Regions from separate parts of the Homo sapiens genome. Here all the other regions are linked to region 1. The links are contacts of gene promoters, found by promoter capture Hi-C in blood cells and fetal thymus (Javierre and others, 2016). All regions are on one chromosome and are shown on one strand. Each heading gives the region's core, a stretch centred on a gene start or on the middle of the fragment in contact. The rest is flanking DNA. Distances are from core to core; before and after follow the strand shown.

Region 1 (5,513 bases), core at 414-2,913:
TTGGCTGATGTCATTCCAGGCTCAAGGTCATCAGTGAGGCAAAACAGGCTTTCTCCATACTCTCTTTATCAGAAGGTTCATGACTGATGAGGTAGTGGTCACTCCAGCGGGAAGAGCAACAACCACTCTTGATAAGTACTTTTTTTTTTTCTTCTAAAAACTGTTGCTCTAAATTTGTTGAAAGTGGTTCAACAGTATTGGAGTCTGGGGTCAAGTGGCTGTGTAAGGACAACTTTTGCCATTGTGGGTGATCTATGGGCTGACACATACAACAGAAGAGGCCAGGAGGATGTCACTCGTGTGTGTGTGTGTGTGTGTGTGTTTGGTAACAGCTCTATTGAGATATAATTCACACACCATACAATTCACCCATTTAAAGTATGCAATTCAATGGCTTTTAGTGTATCAGAGAGTTGTTCAATAATTACCACAATATACTTTAGAATATTTTCATTTTCATCATCCTAAGAATCCCTACACACTTTATGTCCCATCCTCTAATTCCTCTATCCCCCTAGCTCTAAGCAACCACCAGTCTATTTTCTGTCTCTTAGATGTGTGTTTTAAATGCCTTATTTGCCAGAAAATAAGATTTTGGGGAAAAAAAGCAAGAAGTTGTACCTTCCAATGATAAGTATAAGGTATAGTGTAGATTGCTGTCATGAAATGCTCTACATGGCACATGTATGTTTTCTGACCTACACATTTTTACCAAGTGGGCTGTAATTTTGTTGAAATGACTTGAAAACTCTACAGGTGACTGACCCTTGTTGTTTGGGAAAGTGGTAGGTGCAGGGTGATGGGGGGTGGGTGTGGGGGCTGACCTGGGCTGGAAGGATGGGTCTGGGGATATGATATGATGGGAGGGGGTATGGAAGCAGCTCTGAGGGGAAAGCAGCACAGATCAAGTGTGTGGACAGGGAAGAGCTGACATCCTGAGTTCCATGGCAACCAGATTTGCCAAGGTCTTAGAGTGTGTCCAGAGTGGAGCCTGACCACAGACCTCAGCTCAAGGGACCCAGAGCCCCTCTGAGTCAGCTGTACTGAATTACAGCCCCAAATCTGGGTCAACTGGGGAGAGACGACGAGGATTAGGGTTCCAAGGTGAAACTGTGCCATTGCGCTCCAGCCTGGGCAACAAGAATGAAACTCTCTTAAAATAAAATAAAATAAAATAAAATAAAATAAAATAAAATAGCCTAAGGATGCATTTCTCAGAACTTATCCCTGTTGTTCAATGATGTGTGTCTATACAGTGGGGCCATAACTAAGACGTATGTTGCCCAAGCTGGCAAGATAGCTCTGACCTTCTCTTGGGCCCCTCATTTCCCCCAAACACAGGTTGTCTGCAGTCTTGACCAATGGCTGCCAGGGCATGGACTCCGCTGCAGGGGCCAGTGGGAGGCCCCAGCTCAGGCAAAAGCACAGGCAGATATTTCAGGAGTCTGCTAGGGCTGGCACTGAGGGCAGAGACAGAGGGGTCTCCCTGTCCTTTGGAGAACCTCACGCTGCAGAAATTCCAGACTGAACCTTCATACCGAGTAGGGGAGGAGCTGTCTGCGGGTTTGAGCCTGCAGCAGGAGGAAGGACGTGAACATTTTATCAGCTTCTGGTATGGCCTTGAGCTGGTAGTTATAATCTTGGCCCTGGTGGCCCAGGGCTACAGTCATCCTAGCAGTCCCCGCTGAAGTGGAGCAGGTACAGTCACAGCTGTGGGGACAGCATGCTGGCCAAGGGTCTTCCCCCACGCTCAGTCCTGGTCAAAGGCTGCCAGACCTTTCTGAGTGCCCCCAGGGAGGGGCTGGGGCGTCTCAGGGTGCCCACTGGCGAGGGAGCTGGCATCTCCACCCGCAGTCCTCGCCCCTTCAATGAGATCCCCTCTCCTGGTGACAATGGCTGGCTAAACCTGTACCATTTCTGGAGGGAGACGGGCACACACAAAGTCCACCTTCACCATGTCCAGAATTTCCAGAAGTATGGCCCGATTTACAGGTAAGCCTGGCAGAGGGTGGGAGCCGAAGGGACAGGGAGGAGGAGGGGCCTGGGTAGCCCTGCTGTAGTCCCCACTCCCCCAACAGGCTGTTCTCTGGTTCCAAACTCCTGTCTAACTTCTTTTTTTTTTTTTTTTTTGGTAATACAATACAGAAATATATCAGGGATATTTCAAAATTCAACATTTGAATCTGTGAATGTCTTAAGTACTCTAAACCAGACATCTACTTTTGAAACAATTGGTGGCAAGACCGCCAGCCATCTGTAAGGAAGCTCTTTAATGGGTCCAAACCCCAGGTCTGGCCAGGCATGGTGGCTCACACCCATAATCCCAGCACTTTGGGAGGCCGAGGTGGGCGGATCACTTGAGATCAAGAGTTCGAGACCATCCTGGCCAACATGATGAAACCCCGTCTCTACTAAAAATACAAAAATTAGCTGGGTGTGGTGGCAGGCGCCTGTAATCCCAGCTACTCGGGAGGCTGAAGCAGGAGAATGGCTTGAACCGGAGAGGCAGAGGTTGCAGTGAGCCGAGATCGCACCATTGCAATCCAGCCTGGGCGACAGAGTGAGATTCTGTCTCAAACAAAACAAAACAACCTCCTCGGTCTGAGGAGGGGAGACTGGTGAGGCTAAGTTTTGAATTCCTGGCCCTGTAGCTGTCAGCCCAGCCAGCGAGTTTTAAAAATTGGGAGAAGGCCGGGTGCGGTGGCTCACGCTTGTAATCCCAGCACTTTGGGAGGCTGAGGCAGGCGGATCACTTGAGGACAGGAGTTCGAGATCAACCCGGCCAACATGGTGAAACCCTGTCTCTACTACAAAAATAAATAAATAAATAAATAAATAAATAAATAAAATAAAAAAAATTAGCCGGGCATGGTGGCGGGGGTCTATAATCCCAGCTACTCGGGAGGCTGAGGCAGGACACTCGCCCGAACCCAGGAGGTGGAGGTTGCAGTGAGCCGAGATCATGTCACTGCACTCCCGCCCTGGGCAACAAAAGCGAAACTCTGTCTCAAAAAAAAAAAAAAAAAAAAAATCGGGGGAGGGAGATTTGAAGGTCAGAGCACAGAGTGAAAAGGTCGCAGCGTGGTCAAGTTTGGCGCTAGCGACAGACCCAGCATTCCTCCCAGCGCACGCCGCCGCCCGGGCCGCGCTATTCCGAAATTGGGTCCGCCCTAGCGTGGCCCCCGGCCTGCTCCTGCGCTCTTCGCGGGTCGCTCACCTCCGCCTCCCCTCGACACAGCCCGAGCCCATCCGCCCCCCGGGTCGACCCGCGTTTACCTCAGGGCGAGGTCCAGGCGCTCGGCCCCGCGGAGGCGGCGGCGGCCCCACCGCAGGTCCTAGGTCCCAGTCACTCTGCCGCCAAGTTCCCCAACACGGACTCCGTGCGCTTTGAGGTGTTACGGGGGCGCTGGAGCACTGGCTTCGCTGGCCCTGCCAGGAGGCGGCGGCGAAGCAGGGAGCGACCCGGTATGCGTTTCTCTGCCCGGCCTGCGGCCCTGCAGCATCCACTCCTCGCCTCTGCTGGCCTCTGCCCTCGCTCGCTGCGTTCACCCGAGCTCACCCGAGCCCACCGGAGCCGACAGTGGCGCGCTAAGGTGACGTCCGCGCGGCCGGACCTCTCCTGTCCAACTTCTGATCTTCTTCCAGGCCTGGGATGGTGGTGGGTAAAAGGGAAAGTATTCCTAGTTCCCAGGCCTGAGGCCTCAACCTTCCCCAGATCCCACTCCCTTTGAAACTCTCGGAGAGAGGTGGTTAGAGAACAAGCCCTACTAAATGCCTCCCTACATCCGTTACCCTCCGCACACCTTGCAAGCGAAGTTTGTTGTCCCCATGGTCAGAGGAGGAGACTGAGGCTCAGAGAGGTCACCCAGCTAGATTCCTGTCCTGCTGGGGTGCTGGATCTCACCCCTTGGCCCTGAGGCTCTGAGTCTGTCCCTTCCCTTTCCCAAGAATCGGGCTTGCTTCCTGCTAGGAGGAAAGGCCTTTTTTTTTTTTTTTTGTCTTTGGGCCTCTGTGCCTCCAGGGCTTGTGGCTTTTTCCTGGGAAAACTGCTAAAGCTGTTCCCACGGTGGGCAGCCTTTCAGCCACACCTGGGTTCTTTGCTAAGAGTCCGGTTGAGAGGGAACGGAGGTGGCGCAGGGGTGGTTGGGGGCTGGGAGGGGAGACCAGGAGGGACAGTACGTTTTCCTTTAAGTGAAAGGTCTTTACAACTCAGAGCATTCCAATGGGTCAGTCACGAAGAGGGAAGGGTAAGATGTGTTGGCCGGCTTGATGACTGGGCTGGGGGTGGGTGAGAAGGCAGGCTAGTTTGTGTTGGGGCTTCAGCTGCTCCCTCCCTCTCTCACAACTCCTTTAAAGTCCAAACTGCCCCTTTTGATAGCTGGTTGGTGGCAGGGAGCTCCCCCCACCCCGCACCCCACCCTATTCAAGGTTGAGTGCTGGGCTTGGGAGGTTGCGCCCCGCTGGGTCTCTCCTTCCTCCCCCTCTCTCCTAGGCCTATTAGTGCTTCTGTCCCGTGCTCACTTCACATAGATCTCTAGTTATCCTTGCTTCCTCCTCTCTTCCCTTTTCACCACTTCCTAGACCCTCAGTAGCAACTCCTTATTTTATTAAGCCCCTTTGTTACCGGTGGAGGGTGTCCAGGTTCTTGGCGTCTTGAACAAAGAATTGGACAAAATGCACAGACAAAGTAAGGAAGGAATGAAGGGATTTATTGAAAATGAACATACACACCACAGTGTGGGAGCAGGCGGAGCGTAGGGGCTCAAAGGTCCCGTTACAGAATTGTGGGGCATTTACCCCCAGAGGATTCCATTGGTTACTTCAGATACACCTTATGTAAATGGAGAGGATGAAGTATTCAAGTTACATAGTCATACACCCTATGGAGAGGATATTTCCTGTTATAGCTGAAGTGTGAATCGATCTTCACACTTCAGACCCTATTTTCCTGCCTCATCTGCCCCTTCAAGAGATGTGATCCCCATAAATCTTTATGGGAGGCAGAGGGACCGATGGTCTTTTTTCTGTAACTGCTTCATGCTGGCTTGGGGCATAGTCCCTACCTATTGGGGATCATGGAACTCTCACCCTGCTCTATCTAGTGGAGGAAGGGTAGCTTCTTGATGTCCAGGGGTGGTGTCTTCACTTGGAACTGGCTGGAACCTTTGTTACATGATCATCTGAAGCTTGATGGTCTCTAGGTGAGAGGAAATGAATTTGGTTAAAAGATTTAATGGAAACTTTAGGGGGTGGATACCTATACTGTCAGAAATGTTTGTTGTAGTGATTTGCAGAAGAAAAAACAAAACCTAGTCTTTTCTAGAATCTATGTGTTTCCTTAAAGTCTTGGCATGAGTGGCCCCATTTTGGTTTTGTTTGGTTTGTTGGGGCCTAGTGCATGAGATCAGTCCAAAACAACGGCCTCCCAGAATTTTGTTGAAAAAAATTCCCTTTTTGATCAGGTTTTCACTTAGGTGAGAGTGTGACCAAAACCTAGGGCCTCAGTGCCACTC
Region 2 (5,513 bases), core at 3,014-5,513, 460 kb before region 1:
AGAGAGCAGGGGCTTTCAAGAACAATAAAGGTGGAGACTGGAACTCAGGCCTCCTGTCTGCTGAGGGTGTCTGCCCATGCTCTCTCTCAGAGTTTCTGAGTGGTGGTGTCTGGAGGGGCTGGACACGCAAGGGAGCTGGCCTCGTGTGTGTCTGTCTGTGCCGGGATGTATCTGTGGCTTCTGTCTCTGAACGTGCCAGGGGTTTTGTGTCCTGTGTGTGTCTCTCTGTGGGTGCTCCTGTGTGCAGGAACTTGGGGCCATGGCCAGAGAGGGATGGGCCTATTCCTACAATCTTGGGAGGCCTCCACAGGCTGAGCTGGTGGGGAGGGTCCTGAAGGGTAGAGTGAAGATGGGGACTTTACTCCCAGCGGAGAGGAAGAAACCAGAAGATAGGCTTGGGGCATGGATGGGAAAGGTCTTGGAACTAGGATGGGGCAAGGGAAACAAAGCCCCAAATGGAGTATGGGTCCCTGGAAGTTGACACACTCTTAGCCCTCATGGGGGCCCAGCCCAGTGGGTAACCCCGGGGAAGTGGTCACATGACGTGACACTTCTCAGCTGATTGCTTGAGATCCCCCAGTGTGGCCTGGGCCTTGTCCTTGAGTGAGCCCAGGTTCAAGCCAGGAAGGCTGGCCAGCTGCCCAAGGACTGAGGCCTTCTCCTCCTCCTCCTCTGTGTCCTCCTCGATCATCTTGGCCAGCTCCCGGGGCAGCTCCACGTCTCCACCTGCCATCTGGATCTGGCTCTCATCTGTCTCGTTCTGAAGGGAAGAGGGGAAGAGGGGGTGGGGTGGAGTGGAAGTCTGTGAGGACCCAGAGTTGAGAGGACAGGGAGGAGGCTTGGACTGGGTTCCAGGCCCCTAGATTCTATTTTTTCTTTTTTTTTTTTTTTGTAGAGACGAGGTCTCCCTATGTTGCCCACGCTGGTCTCAAACTCCTGGGCTCAAGTGATATGCCCACCTTGGCCTCCCAAAGTGCCGGGGGAATACAGGAATGAGCCACTGTGCCCGGCCCCTTAGATTCTTGAGCCCCATGTTCCAGTGAGCTCAGCTCCCACCCCCACATCCCAGGATCAAGCGTTTGATGCCTGGACATGGAGACCTTTTTATATTACCTTATTTCACTCTGAGATGCTGAAGGACCAGCACAGTGAGTAAAGACAAAATGAAAATACCTATGAGTCACACTGTTACAGTCAGCTAAGTCATGTTTTGACTCTTGTTATGCTTAAGGGTGTAACCAAAAATAGTGATGGGTACCATTTATCAAACATCTATTATATCTATTACATGGCAGACGTTGAGCTGGGTGCTTTTAATTCTCACAATAACCCTGTGAGGTAGGTAGGTATTGTTATTTCCACTTCACAAATAAGGAAATTGAGGCTTACAGGATTTAAGTAACTTACTTTAAATTTAAGTTACTTAACTAACTTAAGTAACTTAAGTAACTTAAATTATCCAAGATCACACAGGCAGGATGTTGGGGAGCTAGATTCAAACCTATGTCACTGATTCCAACATCTGTGTTTTTTTGCATGGCACCTACGATGACCATTGCCCTTCACTATTCTTCTGGGGGGCGCCTTATGTCCTACTCAGTTGCATCCAAGTCTTGGCTCTTCTGCTCAACTCTGACTTTGCTGATGGCAGGTGTCTCTTATATGCCTAGCGCAAGCATCTGAGGAATGATTTTATTCCTAGAAGAGTTTGCAGTGAGGCAGGCTTTCTGGACCGGTTTTTCCCCGTGACAGATTTCCAAAAGATTGGTGCCCTGTGGGGAGTCAGAAGCAGCTGGGGACTCAGTAAATATTTGTTGAATGAGTGAATGTGATGTTCATATATTTGGTCATTCAATTCAAGTGGAAGATCAAAATCAGGAGCGCTATAGCCCTGTGCTGTTTTCCCCTGAGTCCAGCACAGTTCTGGATGCACTAGGGTGATATTCTGGGAGAGATTTGTGCTTCATTCCCCTCCTTAGACAACAGGAGCAGCACACTTACACGCCCATCTGGTGGTGCACTGCCCAGGGGAGCGTGGGGGCAGGGATCTCCTGAGATATACTCTCTGGCTGCTTGGCCGGCCAAGGGGGTACTTGGCTCTCTACGGGCAGACTCCATACTCTGGAAAGCAGCCTGGGGCCCTGGAGCAAAGGCAGGCTCATATTCACCGGCTTGAGGGCTGGTCCCAGCTCCATGGCTCACTGGCTGTATGATCTTAGCCAAGTCCCTCCATTTCTCTTAGCCTCAGTTTCATCTTTTGTCGCTGTGGGTGATAGCTGCCTGGCAGCATTATTGGGGGTTAGATGAGGACATGAAGGTCAAGTACTTGGCACACACAGGGCTTCTCTCCCCCACCTTAAGTAAGTTCTGCCCTTCAGTAGGTTCAGAAACCCCCAGAACACTCACCTCTGCAGTCAAATCTACTGATTTCTGCCTCCCCTGTGTCTTCCTCTGCCCAGGCCTGGCCCAGGCTTGGTGGGGATATGGGGGGTGGAGGAGAGAAGAGGCCTAGATTGGCTCCAGAAATACAGACCTGTCAGTCTCATGAGGACTGGGGTCCCCTCAGCACAAAGCCCTGGCCCTTGGTGGGCACAGATTTAACTACGAGTGAGTGAATGAATAAAAGAACAAATGAATGAGAAGGAAGGATCTAACCAAATACCCTGTGAGTCTCATAGCTGAGGGCTGTGGTGCCCAGAATGGGGCGAAGGAGTCCAGAACCCAGAGCTCAGGGTCCCAGATGTGCCTCACAGCCGGGGCCAGCTTACCTTGGGTAGCCGGTATTTGTCTCGGAAGTGGCTCCGCAGTGTGGCCCGCTCTGCCTTCCTCTGTGTGAACTGTGCATCCCGCTCCATCCTGCAGGGTCACCGGAGGCAGAGTCACCACGAGGGCTGAGAGAAGGGGGTTGAGGTCTTCGAGGGAGGGACAGAAGGGGTCTCTGAGTCCTAGCAGCTGCTGCATTGGTCCCTGTGTGTAGCAAAAGCGCTCCAACCCGGACATCCAGGTTTCTGCTGCCTCTGCCCATCACAGTGCCCTTTGTCGTCTCTGCCACTGGATGGAACTAGGGAACCAGGGTGGCAGTCTGTCTGGCTCTCTCTGCAGATCCTAATTATTTGTCCCTCATGGCCTCCAACTTGGTCTGCTGTTCCCTCACTGACAAGCTATGTCATGTGGGGAAAAGTATTCAGGCCAAACTTGGGTTCACATCCCAGCTCCACTACCATTTTAGGTATATCCTTAGGTAAGTCACTTACCTTCCTCTTCTGTAAAATGGGGATAAAATTTTGCAACTCACAAAACTGTTATCAGGATTGAGCGAAATAATAGCTATCATTTATGAGACTTTATCATGTGCCAGGTGCTGTGCTAAACAGTTTACATGCATTGGCATTTAATCTTCATAAATATACAAGGCATGTATTATGATTACCATCCCCACTTTCCAGAAAAGGAAACAGAGGCACAGAAAGGTTAAGTAACTTGCCTAAAGTTATCCAGCTAATAGGCAAAGCCAGGCTCTGAACCCAAGTAGCCTAGCAGCAGAGTCCAGCCCCAAACTCTGTCCCAGCACTGCGGGCACACAAGTGCTCAATGTTTGTGAGTGCCCCCATCTCAGGGTCTGTCTCCGCGACTCTGAGCGGCTGCACCACTTTTTTCAGAGCCTCAAGTTCAGAGGAGCCCCAGTTGGAAGACATAGGCGGCTGGGACCAGATCGGATTAAGGGATTATCGTTTCGTCAGAAACGCACGTGCACCCCCTTCCTCGTCCCAGGCTCCGGTCGGTCCCTCGTCCGGTCGCCCCTCCCCCCACTCCCCCTTGGCCGGAGCATGATGCTGGAGCGGGGTTTTGGGTGTCAGATAGGATGGGTCTGGGGGCAGTGTAGAGGACACCTCCCGGTCTCTTACCGTGTCTAGGAAAGTAGGGGAGAAGGGATTGGGACCTGAGGCTGGCCCGGGGATGGACTGAGCAGCTGTGGGGGTGGGGAGGGGAGGTCGTTGGAGCCAGGAAGGGATCCCACTCACTTCTCTTCCACGAGTTGCTTCTGATACTCCTCGTACTCCTCCCGGCTCATGCCCTGAGCTTCGGCTGCCGACTTGTCCCCATCTCCCTTATCCTCGCCGCCTCCCAGGCTCCCAGTGAGGTTCTTCAGCTGGCCGCCCACCATGGTCTTCACCATGAACGCCATGGTCTTCGCCGGCCGGGGCACCGGGCGCCTGCTACCACGCGCCAGGCACCGGGCACGTCCGCGCCTACTTCAGCACTAGGTTTCGCGGACAGCTCCCGCCGCGGGCCCGCGCCCCACGCTTGGCACCGCCCGCCGCCCGCCCCCGCCCGGGCCCGCCCCCACCTCCCCAAACCCCTCCTCACTGGGGGCGGGGGGCAGCACGGGGCTGAGAAGGCTGGACCACGTGCCCGCTCCCCACTCCCGCCTCCCCCACGTGCCTCCTTCAACGCCGAGCTCCGCTGGGCACTGCTGACAGAGGATTAGGGCCTGCGGTGGTGGGGTCGCTCTCCCGGGAGAGGGGTTGAGCTCATACACTCCCGGAACCCTGTTCCATAGCCTCTTCCAACTTTCTCCTCTCCTGGGCCACTAATAACTAGGATTTCAGCTGGGAGATCCAGGTAGCAGCAAGGGGTAAAAACCCAGCCTTGGGTGCCCCCCATTCTCCCCACCCACCCAAGTCACTGAACCCAGCAGCTGCCCAGAGAGCTTGACGCTGGAAAAGGGAGGGAGACCTGAGGGCGCGAGCGGGAATCCCAGTTATGGTTCCACGAGTTGGCCTCTCAGGGTTGCTCTGTCACGCGCCTCCCCTGCTGCCCCTGGAGCAGCTAGGAGTGGGGAGGGAGAGAGCTGCTCAGTGATGCTGGCTGAGCTGGGCCAGGAGGGACACTGGGAGACACTGCTCTCTGTTATGGGTGAGTTTGAGGACAGAATTATATACAGTCATGGCTCTCTTTCCCTCCATAGTCGAGGGTTCAAAGCCCGTGGGGTATCCGGTCTTTTGGAGGTTAAGCCAGGCCTTGGCCTCCTTGCCTGCTTGGAGCGCACTCCCAGCCAGGTACTCAGAAGGGGTGGAAGCCTTCACAGAGATTAGGGTGAGGCTGGAAAGAAGACCAGCATATCACAGCATGGGGAGAGGGAAATCACCTTTAACGAGGTGGGAGCATGCCGAAAGCTCAGGTGTGCGTGGGAGCTGGGCACCCAGACGGAGAGGATACTGACCAAGCCCCCACCCAAGACACTGCCTGCTTCCCAGTGATGCAAAGCAGGCTCTGAGGTGGGTCAGGCAGGCATGCTGGCAGGGAGAGGCTGCCTCCTCAGAATCCCCAGGGCCCTGGGGGTGTGTGGTGCAGGACCCAGAGGAAGGCTGCCTGTGGACAGACACTCCTGAAGGCTCTTGTTCAGCTCCTGCCTGCTGCCAGAGAGAAGGTTACAGGTTACTTGCGTCTCTCCTTTATGGGCTTTTGAAAAACCAGGACTCTCATGCTTGCCTTGCTACACTCACTGCACC
Region 3 (5,513 bases), core at 958-3,457, 380 kb before region 1:
GCTTGCAGCAGGAGCTGGTAGCAGCCCTGGGTATGGCTTAAAGTGTCATTTTATGCCCCATTGACCCTTCCTCCCAATAACACCAGGGGTCCAATTTCAAAGAAGGAAAAGGTTAGTGTGAACACAGGGAAGCAACGTGACACCAGAGCTGGGGATTAGCCTCTGTTGGGGTTTAGGTTTCTGCAGAATGAAAGCTTTCTCACTCATAGGCCCCCCACATTGCAGGACTCTGCTAGGGCCCCATTTCCAGGGCTTTTTTCTTGGGGGCTTTGAGGAGCCCTGAGAAGGGGGCTTCAAGGATGAGGAAACTGAGGCCCAGAGAAGGGGAAGAGTCGGCTCCAGGTCACACAGCTGGTCTGAGGTGTCCAGAGCCTTCCTAGGCCTTGGCAACACAGCAGCTGTGTGGGCATGCTGGAGCTGGGAGGGAGGGGCTGCACCCAGGCCCTGCAAGGTGCCCCTTGCCACCTGCACCCCGGGCTCACCTTGTCAAAGTCCTGATAGTGCTCCTGGACTGTTTTCTGCAGGAACCACAGGAACCTCTGGTTGAAGGCCTTGAACCTCTGCAGGGCAGGGTTAGGCAGGTAGCGAAGGATGGGGAAGAAGTCCAGGGGGTTCCCGGAGGAGGCAGTCTCCACGAACTCATGAGTGTTCTTCACGAGGCTGAGCATCTCATCGCTACTCTCAGGGAAGTGCTGTCCGAAGCACATGGCACCAATGACGTTGGCCACTGACACCACCACCTGATTGTAAGGGTCGAAGTGCCCAGGCCCTGCCATCAGCTCCTGCAACCTGCTGATCAGGGCCTTAGCCTCCTTGCTCACATGCTCCTCCAGGTAGCAGGAGGATGAGGAAGCTGGGTCAGAGGCGATGGAGAAGGTGTTGAGGGCATTCTGGGCCAGGCGCCGGCGGGCAGCCCACACCGGTCCAGAGTCTGTGCTGAAGGTCAAGCTCTGGCCATCAGTGATGAGGGTGGAGGTGTAGAGGTCAGGCCGGCCCTTGAAATCGTCGCCCTGCCGCACCAGGGCCTGCCGGATGGTGTCCAGGCGGCTCAGCACCAGCACGGGCGTGGAGCCAATGCGGATCTGCAGGACGTCCCCGTAGCGCTGGCTCATCCTTGACAGTGCCAGGTGCGGGTTCTTCCCCAGGGTCAGCACATGCCCGAGCAAGGGCCAGCCCCATGGCTCTGGTGGACTTTTCAGGCCTTTGGGGACCCGAGGCCTCAAACCCTTGAGCACCCAGAATACCAGGCAGAAGATGGCAGAGGCCAGGAGAAGCTCTGTGGCCGAGAAGGGAACAGACTGGGACAATGCCATCTGTACCAACTGCAGGGAAAAAAGGAGGGACCAGGCTGAGGGTTGAGATGGAGACATTCATTCATTCATTTCCTCAGTCATTTGATAAACACTGATGCGTGTTCTGTGCTTGGCTCCCAGCTGGATACCAGAAAGACTAAGCTCCATCTACCATGCGTCCTGGGCCCACAGAGCTCACCCTTTGAGCATCACAGAATCTGAGAGCTGGAAAGGAGCCTCAAGATTCCCAACATGAACGCTGGCTCTCTCCTCCACACATCATCTCAGTTTCCACTTCTGGGGCTGGAGTAGAGGCAAGTGACCACTCCAAAATGGGGAAGCCAAGGACAGCACCCTTGTCAGCCCCTGGCACAGCATGCATGCTGGGTATTGTACCAAAGAGTCCCTGCCAGTGCTGGCTTTCTGCTGATACCTTCCATATACCCAAGGGACCAGGAGTTCCCCCTACCCAGTGACACTGAGGTGGCCAAGGTCCCAGGGCTGGTTCAAATAGCCTGTGATGCCCCCTCCCCAGGGCATTCTTTATCAATACCAGGAGGGGCACCTCCTCCAGGGATGAGTCCCCATCCTCTCACAGTCTTGGAGGTTGGGGTTGGGCTTCAGCCAGGGCCAGGGCTGCCCTTGTGCTAAGGGGGAAGCCCTCCCCATCGCTCTCCTTAAAAATGGCTTAGTCCAAACTGCTCATTTAAAATCGGGAAACAGAAGTCAAGAGCTGGGTAGCAAAGCCCGGAACTCAGGACCCCTACACCTAGCCCAGGCTCCCCGTCTTTCTGTCCCCACTAGCTTCCAGGTTCTATAGTTGGGGATCCCAGAGATTGTAAATTGGTCCCAAGAAAGGTACCTGTAGAGGCAGGTGCTTGAGATTGGCAGGGTTGTAATGGCTGGTGTGGAGCTTCTGGCTCTAGGTGAGTGGCCTTTTTATAAACACCGCCCCCTATCAGATTGGCCTGGTTGTCCTGATCACCTGATATGAAAGCTGGATCACTGAACAAAGTTGGAAGGATCAACTCTTGGCCTTGGGCCATTATCCCTCAGCTCCACCTACTACCTAAGACCCAGGGTGACTCTTTGGGGATAGGCCAGAAGGGGTGCTGGGTCCCTGGGGATGAAGGTACAGCTGTCTTTAGGGTTCAGGGTAGGGAGCCTATTTCTCTGAAGAGTAGGGTAGGGTCTGGGAGTGGGGGTTAGGCCTTTGGACTGATCTGGGCTTCTTTCCCACTGCACACATGAGGAAGAGCTCTGCCAGGGCACTCAGTCTAGGCCAACCAGGCTCACGGCCCCTCTCCAGAGGGATGTTCTTCTGTAGTACCCTCCAACAACCTGCAAAACCAAACAGTAAATGGGCGTGTTCCAGCCACTCCTGATTTTCAGCCCAAGTCCCCAAGTGGAAAAGAAGAGATGATAAAGATTTTGCATCCTAAAGAGAGGCCCCCCTTATGCAAAAAGACTAAGAGACATAACCAAATGCAATATGGATTTGCATTTGATTGCCATATCGATTGGATATGGCATTTAAACAAAATTTTAAAAAAATCTATAAAAGATGTTTTGGGGACAATTGGGGACATGTAAGCACGGACTGGAGATTAGATGATATTCTGGAATAAATGTAAATTTTTTTAGGTGTGAACAGAGTGTCATGGTATGTGGGAGTGTATCCTTATTCTTAGGAGATTAATGCTGTAGCATGGAAGTGTCATGATCCCCACAACCTCCTTTTGAATGGTTCTGTTAAAAAATGTACACCTCTAGGCCAGGCGCGATGGCTCGCACCTGTAATCCCAGCACTTTGAGAGGCCGAGATGGGCGGATCACCTGAGATCAGGTGTTCAAGACCAGCCTGGCCAACCTGGTGAAACTCCGTCTCTACTAAAAATACAAAAATTAGCCAGGCATGGTGGCATGTGCCTGTGATCCCAGCTACTCGGGAGGCTGAGGCAGGAGAATGGCTTGAACTTGGGAGGTGGAGGCTGCAGTGAGCCAAGATCGTGCCACTCCACTCCAGCCTGGGCGACAGAGTGAGACTCCGTCTCAAAAAAAAAAAAAATGTACACCTTTAAAGAGTGTAATTGGATTGTTTGTAACTCAAAGGTTTATCCTTGCTTGAGGGGATGGATACTCCATTCTCCATGAATGCTTATTTCATATTGCATGCCTGTATCAAAACATTTCATGTACCCCATACATATATACACCTACTATGTACCCATAAAATTAAAACAATGTATACCTATCTATCAATAAATCGAGAGAAAGTAGATATGAGAAATGTCAGATATTCATGGACTTACGTGAGGATATATGGTGTTTGTTGTACTAAAGGAGTCTTTAATATGGACCCAGATCTCAGTCAGATCTAAGAGGAGGAGGAGGACAAGCCTTAAATTGGATGTGAAAAGGAAGTTTGCTATCTTTTTTTTTTTTTTTTAGATACAGAGTCTTGCTCTGTCACCCAGGTTGGGGTTCATGTGCCACAATCATGGCTCACTGCAGCCTCGACCTCCTGAGCTCAAACAATCCTCTTGCCTCAGCCTCCTGAGTAGCTGGGACCACAATCACAGGTGTGTGCACCATGCCTGGCTAATTTTTTTATTTTTAAACATTTTTTTGTAGAGAGGAGGTCTTGCCATGTTGCCCAGGTTGGTCTTGAACTTCTGGGCCCAAGCAATCCTTCTGCCTTGGCCTCCCAAACTGCTGGGATTACAGGTGTGAGCCACTGTGCCCGGCATGGATGTGAGAGGGAAGTTTTGATTTAGACTGGAGTGGGCTTTTATTCCTGAAAATGAGAAAACTGTGGGATCAACCTGTGAAGATGCCAAGGCAGATGGATGGGGAATCCAATAGAGAAACAGAGCATGTTTGAAGGCCATGAATGGGAGAAGAGGAAAGTTGTTTCCTGTCTATATCTCCATTGGGTTCAGATGACTCAATGAAAAAGGTCAAGGTTTGAGGTTAGGCTCGGTTTTATAGAAAATGGACTCTTTCTTTCTCTCTGTCTGTCTGTCTCTCTAATTAACTAAAGTTCATGGTTTACTTAGATTTCCTTGCGTTTTACCTAATGTCCTTTTCCTGTTCCAGGACCCATTGGATATCACATGACATTTAGTCATCACGTCTCTTTGGATTCCTCTTGGCTGTGACAGTTTCTCAGGATATCCTTGTTTTTGATGACCTTGACAATTTTCAGGAGTACTGGTTGGACATTTTGTAGGATGCCCACTATTGGAATGTGCCTGATGTTTTTCTTCTCATGGTAAGCCTGGGGTTATGGTTTGTTGGTGGGAAGACCTTGGAGGTTAGGTGCCATTCTCGTCACATCATATCAGGGTTACATCCTATCAATGTGACTTACAGATGTGGATGTTGACCTTGATCACCTGGCTAAGGTAGTGCGTGTCAGGTCTCTTCACTGTAAAGTTACTCCTTTCCCACCTTTCCATACTGTACCTTTTGGAAGGAAGTCACTATGCACAGCCCACACCGAAGGAGTGGGGGATTACGCTCCTTCTCCTTGAGGGGGGATTATCTCCATAAACTATTTGAAATTCTCCTGTATGACAGACTATTTATCTTTTTATTTTTAATGTTTTCTTAAAACTTAAAAAAATTAAATTACAGGATACAATATAGAAAAGTGCATATGTCAGCTGGGACCGGTGACTCACACCTGTAATTCTAGCACTTTGGGAGGCCGAGGTGGGAGGATCACTTGAGTGAGGCCAGGAGTTCAAGACCAGCCTGGCCAACATAGTGAAACCTCATCTCTACTAAAAATACAAAAAAAAATTAGCTGGGCGTGATGGTGCACACCTGTAATTCCAGCTACTCGGGAAGCTGGGGCATGACAATTGCTTGAATCCGAGAGGCGGAGGTTGCGGTGAGCCAAGATCGCACCACTGCACTCCAGCCTGGGTGACAGAGCAAGATTCTGTCTCAAAAATAAATAAATAAATGGAAAAGTGCATATGTCATGTATAGCTCGATCATGTGTAGCTTGATGAATTTTTGCAAACTTAACAAACACACATATAACCAGCTCTAATCAAGAGACATCATAAGCATCCAAGAAGTCCCGTTGTGTTCCTTTCTCAAGGGTACCCATGACCCCAACATCTATTGCATGGATTTGTTTTGCTTGTTGTATTTTACATAAATGAGATCATGTCATATGTACACTTTTTGGAGGGGAGCCAAGGAATT
Region 4 (5,513 bases), core at 1,654-4,153, 360 kb before region 1:
GCGTGGCGGCGCGCGCCTGCAATCGCAGGCACTCGGCAGGCTGAGGCAGGAGAATCAGGCAGGGAGGTTGCAGTGAGCCGAGATGGCAGCAGTACAGTCCAGCTTTGGCTCGGCATCAGAGGGAGACCGTGGAAAGAGGGGACAGGGAGAGGGAGGGAGAGGGAGAGGGAGAGGGAGAGGGAGAGCTGCTAAAGATTCTTATTCCTGCCTTCAGAGTGGTGGGAGCTACCAAAGAAATTTAAGCAAGGTGGTGATGGAATGAGATTTTGCATTTTTGACAGGACCACTCTGGGTGCCACAGGATGGAGAAGTAATTGGACGGAGCAAAAGGCAAATGGGAACCTAGGTGGAGGCTAAGTGCTCCAGGGAGCAATGATGGGCCCTGGATGAGTTGTGGCAGTGGAGCTGGACAGATGCCAAAGCAGATGCCAAGCAGAGAAATGTGCCTCCTATTCTTAGCACAGTAGCCCGAGTGACCTTGCTTCTCTTACACCCCAGCCATGTCTCTATCTCGCACAGAGGAAGTCTCATGTCTCTCAATGGGGTGCTCCCTGCACATGCGGCAGGGCGCTGTGCCTCATGGGCATCCCATCCCCCTGGACTACATGCCAGGAGAACTCCCCAGTCACATGACCTCTGCACATCCCTGGTACTGCTCGGTCCTTCAAGAACCACTGTGGTGGGGGGTGGCGGGAGGCTTTGATTTTGCTTATTCCCTCTGCCAGTTGCAGTCTTTTATTTGAGATGGAGTCTCGCTCTGTCACCCAGGCTGGAGTGCAGTGGCGTGATCTCAGCTCACTGCAACATCTGCCTCCCAGGTTCAAGCAATTCTCCTGCCTGACTCCACTCCCCCCAAACCCCCCTCACCGCCCCAGTATCTGGGATTACAGGTGAGCAACACCATGCCCGGCTAATTTTTGTATTTTTGATAGAGATGGGGTTTTGCCATATTGGCCAGGCTGGTCTTGAACTCCTGACCTCAGGCGATCCTCCCGACTCGGCCTTCCAAAGTCCTGGGATTACAGGCGTGAGCCACCGCACCTGCCCAGGTACACTTTTTATCCAGATATCTATGCACATTGATTCTTGACTCCACACTCCTGCCTCTCTCCGCAAGGCCTTCCCTGACCCCCTTGTTTTGAATTGCAATCTGCCCTCACATAATCCGTACGCCTTTTCTGTTTAATTTTTTTCAACCGCACTTTTTACCCTCTCACATTCTCTAGATTTGGGGCATATTACTTGTCTCCTTCCATCAGAATGTAAACTCCACGAGATTAGGAGTGCTGTCAGCTGTGTTCCCTTCTCTGTCAATCGCCAGCGCCTCCGAACAGCTCCTGGCACATAGTAGTTGCTTGGTAAATATTTGTGCAATGCACGAGGCCGCATATGACCGGAATGGGAGGTGAGGGGATTATTTTCTGGCCTGGACCAGCGACGGATGGTGGTGCCACCGGGTTGGGGAGCACGTCGGGGATGGCGCGTAACGATGTTAGCTGGGGCCAGGTTGAGCTAGGCACGCAAATACAACTTTTTTTTTCCTGGAAACCCTGTAACAGGAAGGTTCCGGAGGGCGGGACAGCGTCGGAGGCAGGCAGCTAGGCCATGCCAAATGGCACTGGGGCTTCGTGTCGTGCCACAGGCGTGGACCGAAAATGCGGACACATGCAGGCTGCCTCTCCTCGCAGGCAGAAGCCACACGCAGACCTAGACCCTTTGCACCGCATCCCCTTATTCAATCGCGCACCCGCCACCCTTCGACAGTTCCTCTCCCTCCACCCCAACCCCACGCCGCGCGCGAGGCTGGCCCTTTAAGAGCCCCGCCCCGACTCCCTCCCCCCTCGCGTGACTGCGAGCCCCCGCGCCGGGCCGGGGAATGGGTCGGCTGGGTGGCTGCGCGGGCCTCCGGTCCTTCTCACGCAACGCCTGGGCACCGCGCCTCCGGGCCAGGTGGGGCGGGGACGGGCCGCCTGACCTCTGCCCCCTAGAGGGATGTCGCCGGCGCACGCAAGCTAGCCGGGGGTAGGGTGGGGGCTCCGCGCCAGGTGCCCCCTCCGTGGTCCCTGGGCCCGAGTCTTTCCGTGGCCCCCCGCCGCCGGATTTCTGTGCTCTGCCAATCAAAGCACTAGCCACCCCGGGAGCCAAGAGGGACCCTCAAGGGCCGGTGGGTCCTGGCTGGAGGGACCGCGCGTTGCAATCAGCACTAAGGCGATCCTAGAGGCTGCGAGGAGCCGCTAGTGAGCGCTCAGCGAGCCTGCCCCTTCGCCATCCATTCCGATCCTTCAATCAAGAGGCGCGAACCTCAGCTAGTCGCCCGGGCTCTGGGGGACAGGTCCAGCCCCGCGGCGCCTCTGGCCTTCCGGCCCCCGTGACCTCAGGGCTGGGGTCGCAGCGCTTCTCACGCGAGCCGGGACTCAGTAACCCCGGGAAGGAGGTCACCACGGGGCAGCCCCGCCCCCGCCTGCCGAGTCCTGGTAGGCTGTAGCGCTGGGGAGGCATCTGCACGCCCAGCGTTCCAGTGGGTGCAAAAATGACGAAGAGGAGTCCCCGCGCCCCAGGATGGAGCTTCCCGTACCCTCTCTTCGGGCTGTCCTGGGACTTCTCCCTCAAGCCCCCTCCTCGGCTGGGTTCTGCACTGCCCTTGGGACGCCTTGGAATTGGGACTTCCAGGTGTTCCCAGCCCTCACCCCTCTATGTACAGGCACCGAGATGTGTCCCATAGTGGGTTCTTGCCCACCCGACCCCCCACCCCCGCCGCCCTCCGCCACCTTTCTCTCCAATCCCAGAGAGACCAGCCCGGTTCAGGCTGCTTCTCCCTCCATCTCAGCTCGCTCCAGGGAAGGAGGCGTGGCCACACGTACAAGCCCGCCTATAAAGGTGGCAGTGCCTTCACCCTCACCCTGAAGGTGACAGTTCCTTGGAACCTTCCCTGATCCTTGTGATCCCAGGCTCCAAGAGTCCACCCTTCCCAGCTCAGCTCAGTACCTCAGGTGAGTTGCTGGGGGACTTCTGGCTTGCCCTTTCTCTCCCAATAAAAGGAACATTTTGGTGCCTCCAGGACTTCTTAGGTAGCTACCTGTCTAGCACCTCCAAAAAGGGAGGCTCAGAGTGTTTTTAGTGACCAGGCAGTCTAGCCCCCTAGTGGGGAAACTGAGGCCAGGGGAAGAGGAGGACTTGCCCATGGTCCCACAGCTGGTACCAGACCTCTAGATACAGATGGCATCTCATTCAGGACTTCAGGACCCAGGCTCCAGCTCCATCCCCTAGTGAGTGTCTCCCTGCCTACCCTGGGGCTTCCCCATCAAGGCCACCTGGCAGGCTGGAATATGTGCAGCCCCTCCCTCAGGCTTTCTGATGACAGGGGCTTCTCCTTGGGTGGACAGGGTGGATGGAGGGGGTGGGCTGGGTTCTTACCAGCTGTACCCTGCCCTAGCCTAAGAAGCTACCCCTGGCAGATTTTACCCTCCTAAGGGTGGCTTGTCAGTGCTGAGATGTCCTAGACAGCTGGGACAATAGAGGCAGATCTGTGCAGGAGTCCCAGGCCTTTCCTATCTCATTGACCATCTTCTTTGTCCTTTGCTGGGAGACAATCAGGGTGACAGATTGCCAACTGCAGGGAGCTGGAAATACCAGTCCCTAAAAACTCACCAGTCACATCTCCCTTGGCCTCCTACCATCTTACAAAGGCTGCAGGTCCTTGGGATACCCACTGTGCAGAAGGGGACACCATAGCACACCAAAGCCTGGCACTGTCCCCTGTTGACTCAGGGATCTAGTGTGCTTTGATATTTAGCCCCTCCAGGAAGCCTCCCTCCACTATAATACTTGTGGTAGGAACCATCCATCTCCCTGTCTTGTGAGGTTCTCCTGTGGGGAGCCTAACTGGTAAGACTGTCAGGTTCCCCACAGCAGATCTGGGTTTTCTCTTCCCTCTGGATCCAGCTGGGTACTCTGAACTGAGAGATCTTGTCTTACCCTCTCTCAGATGTTGAAATTGGACCCCAGAAAAGTAAAATGTGCAGTCCAAGATCACTTTGACTAGAATGTTGGGTCTACTGACCTCTAGTCCAGGGTAACAGGCAGAGATGCCTGATATGTTGGAGAGAGTGGTTTATGAATTTAAACACCCTTTTTAGGTCAAGCTTACAGAGAAAGTATTGCCTCAGTTTCCTTTCAGTTTAGATCCATTCCTGATTTCCCTGATTCCAGTCTGGGGTTTTCTTACAGCCTAGTGGGAACCTTCCATTTATTCTCTGCTCTCTGGTAACCTGCAAAAGGGGGAGGTCCAAACTGTTCATTCATTGAGAATTGAGCCAAAAAAAAACCCTGGCCTGGATTTCTCTGACTAAAGAGCTCAATCTAGCTGGTCTCCAGCTGCCTTTAAACTGTGGATCAGTTGAACTCAGAGAGCTGGGGCTGAAAGCAATGTGGTTTGGGAAGTGGCCATCCTGTCCCCTATCTCTTCCTCAGTCTGTCCTGGGGTCTGGTGGGATTTCCTGCATCCTGGGATTGAGCAGCAGAGAACTGAGGGTTCTGGGAAAATTCCTTCATTGATCTGACCACTCTTCAAAAGGAGGTACATGTGACAGCAGCTGGAAATTTCCAGGGAAGTGTCCCTAAGGAGTCTGAGTCCTGGCTCTGTCACTGATTGCTGGGGGACTTTGGACAAGTCAGCGCTGCTTCCCCCAAATGTTAAATGAGGCTAAAGGATCAGATGATCCCTAATTCCCCTGAGAACATGATTTTCCTAAGTGTGGTGGGTAGGACTCGGGGTGATACACCTTGATTATGTGTTTATTTTAATGTGTTAGGGGAAAAATCAAACTTGTACTTTCACATAGATATTGTTTATGATGATATGTAGGTAGATTTAAAGTTGATTTTAGGAAAATGTGAAGTAAATAACAGTACTGGTACTATGTGGAAATCACAGATTGACATTGGAAGATGTCAGTTTAGATTGGTACAGCAGTTAAGAGAAAGCGTTCTGGAATTAGGCAACTTGGCTTGGGAGTCTGCATCCAACACTTTCTGGCTGTGTGACCTTGGGCAAGTTACTTACCTTCTCTGAGCCTCATTGCAGGCTACTTCATAGATTTGTGGCCAGGGCTGAATGAAGAAGGACTGTGAAATTCTTAGCCCACAGTGGTAGTTCAACAACTTCTCCCCACCTCACCCTCTTCTTCATGCCCAGTAAGCAGTTCTGGTGGAAAGGTTTCCCCTTTCCCTGACACTCTAGATATTGGCTTTTCTCATCCCCCAATCTGACGGCTTGACTTTTTTTCTTCCTGCACCTTCTCTCAGCAGCCACCTCCAAGATCCCTACACTGATCATGCTTTTCCCAATCTCCATGTCGGCCACGGAGTTTCTTCTGGCCTCTGTCATCTTCTGTCTGGTATTCTGGGTAATCAGGGCCTCAAGACCTCAGGTCCCCAAAGGCCTGAAGAATCCACCAGGGCCATGGGGCTGGCCTCTGATTGGGCACATGCTGACCCTGGGAAAGAACCCGCAC

What was found. The method cuts DNA at HindIII sites, captures the fragments that hold promoters and counts their contacts. A CHiCAGO score of 5 or more calls a contact.
Region 2: the fragment with the promoter of CPLX3 here is called in contact with the fragment with the promoter of CYP11A1 in region 1 in 1 of 17 cell types (M2 macrophages); the score reaches 6.0 in M2 macrophages.
Region 3: the fragment with the promoter of CYP1A2 here is called in contact with the fragment with the promoter of CYP11A1 in region 1 in 3 of 17 cell types (M0 macrophages, M1 macrophages and M2 macrophages); the score reaches 8.8 in M0 macrophages.
Region 4: the fragment with the promoter of CYP1A1 here is called in contact with the fragment with the promoter of CYP11A1 in region 1 in 5 of 17 cell types (M2 macrophages, M0 macrophages, erythroblasts and 2 more); the score reaches 8.9 in M2 macrophages.

What each region holds. Positions count from the first base shown.
Region 1 is chr15:74,363,796-74,369,308 of GRCh38, reverse strand. CYP11A1 (cytochrome P450 family 11 subfamily A member 1) reads left to right here and starts at 1,663. Exons shown (of 9, transcript NM_000781.3): 1 at 1,663-1,992. The coding sequence starts at 1,724. It overlaps LOC124903524 (a long non-coding RNA gene), which reads right to left and starts at 3,847. Exons shown (of 2, transcript XR_007064709.1): 1 at 3,804-3,847; 2 at 1-3,647. RefSeq lists enhancers at 1-85, 1,507-1,531, a promoter at 1-1,713 and a silencer at 3,121-3,280. The HindIII fragment of the contact is 5,873 bases long and covers 1-5,188 here.
Region 2 is chr15:74,825,377-74,830,889 of GRCh38, reverse strand. It overlaps CPLX3 (complexin 3), which reads right to left and starts at 4,263. Exons shown (of 3, transcript NM_001030005.3): 1 at 4,023-4,263; 2 at 2,769-2,856; 3 at 1-760. The coding sequence starts at 4,186. The coding sequence ends at 536. LMAN1L (lectin, mannose binding 1 like) reads right to left here. Exons shown (of 14, transcript NM_021819.3): 14 at 5,136-5,414. The coding sequence ends at 5,285. LOC105370897 (a long non-coding RNA gene) reads right to left here and starts at 2,758. Exons shown (of 2, transcript XR_932478.1): 1 at 2,002-2,758; 2 at 1,189-1,772. RefSeq lists a silencer at 4,074-4,281. The HindIII fragment of the contact is 16,039 bases long and covers 1-5,513 here.
Region 3 is chr15:74,745,539-74,751,051 of GRCh38, reverse strand. CYP1A2 (cytochrome P450 family 1 subfamily A member 2) reads right to left here and starts at 2,207. Exons shown (of 7, transcript NM_000761.5): 1 at 2,155-2,207; 2 at 483-1,322. The coding sequence starts at 1,313. RefSeq lists promoters at 1,314-2,451, 4,183-4,731, 2,117-5,412, an enhancer at 4,305-4,563 and a cis regulatory region at 3,538-5,513. The HindIII fragment of the contact is 9,803 bases long and covers 197-5,513 here.
Region 4 is chr15:74,722,918-74,728,430 of GRCh38, reverse strand. CYP1A1 (cytochrome P450 family 1 subfamily A member 1) reads left to right here and starts at 2,903. Exons shown (of 7, transcript NM_001319217.2): 1 at 2,903-2,990; 2 at 5,305-5,513. The coding sequence starts at 5,334. RefSeq lists enhancers at 1,837-1,860, 1,909-1,923, 1,998-2,020, 1,159-2,358, 2,391-2,414, silencers at 1,907-2,066, 2,066-2,175, 2,247-2,326, 2,171-2,346, 2,066-2,346, a cis regulatory region at 1,066-2,440 and a promoter at 1,291-3,195. The HindIII fragment of the contact is 9,244 bases long and covers 1-4,144 here.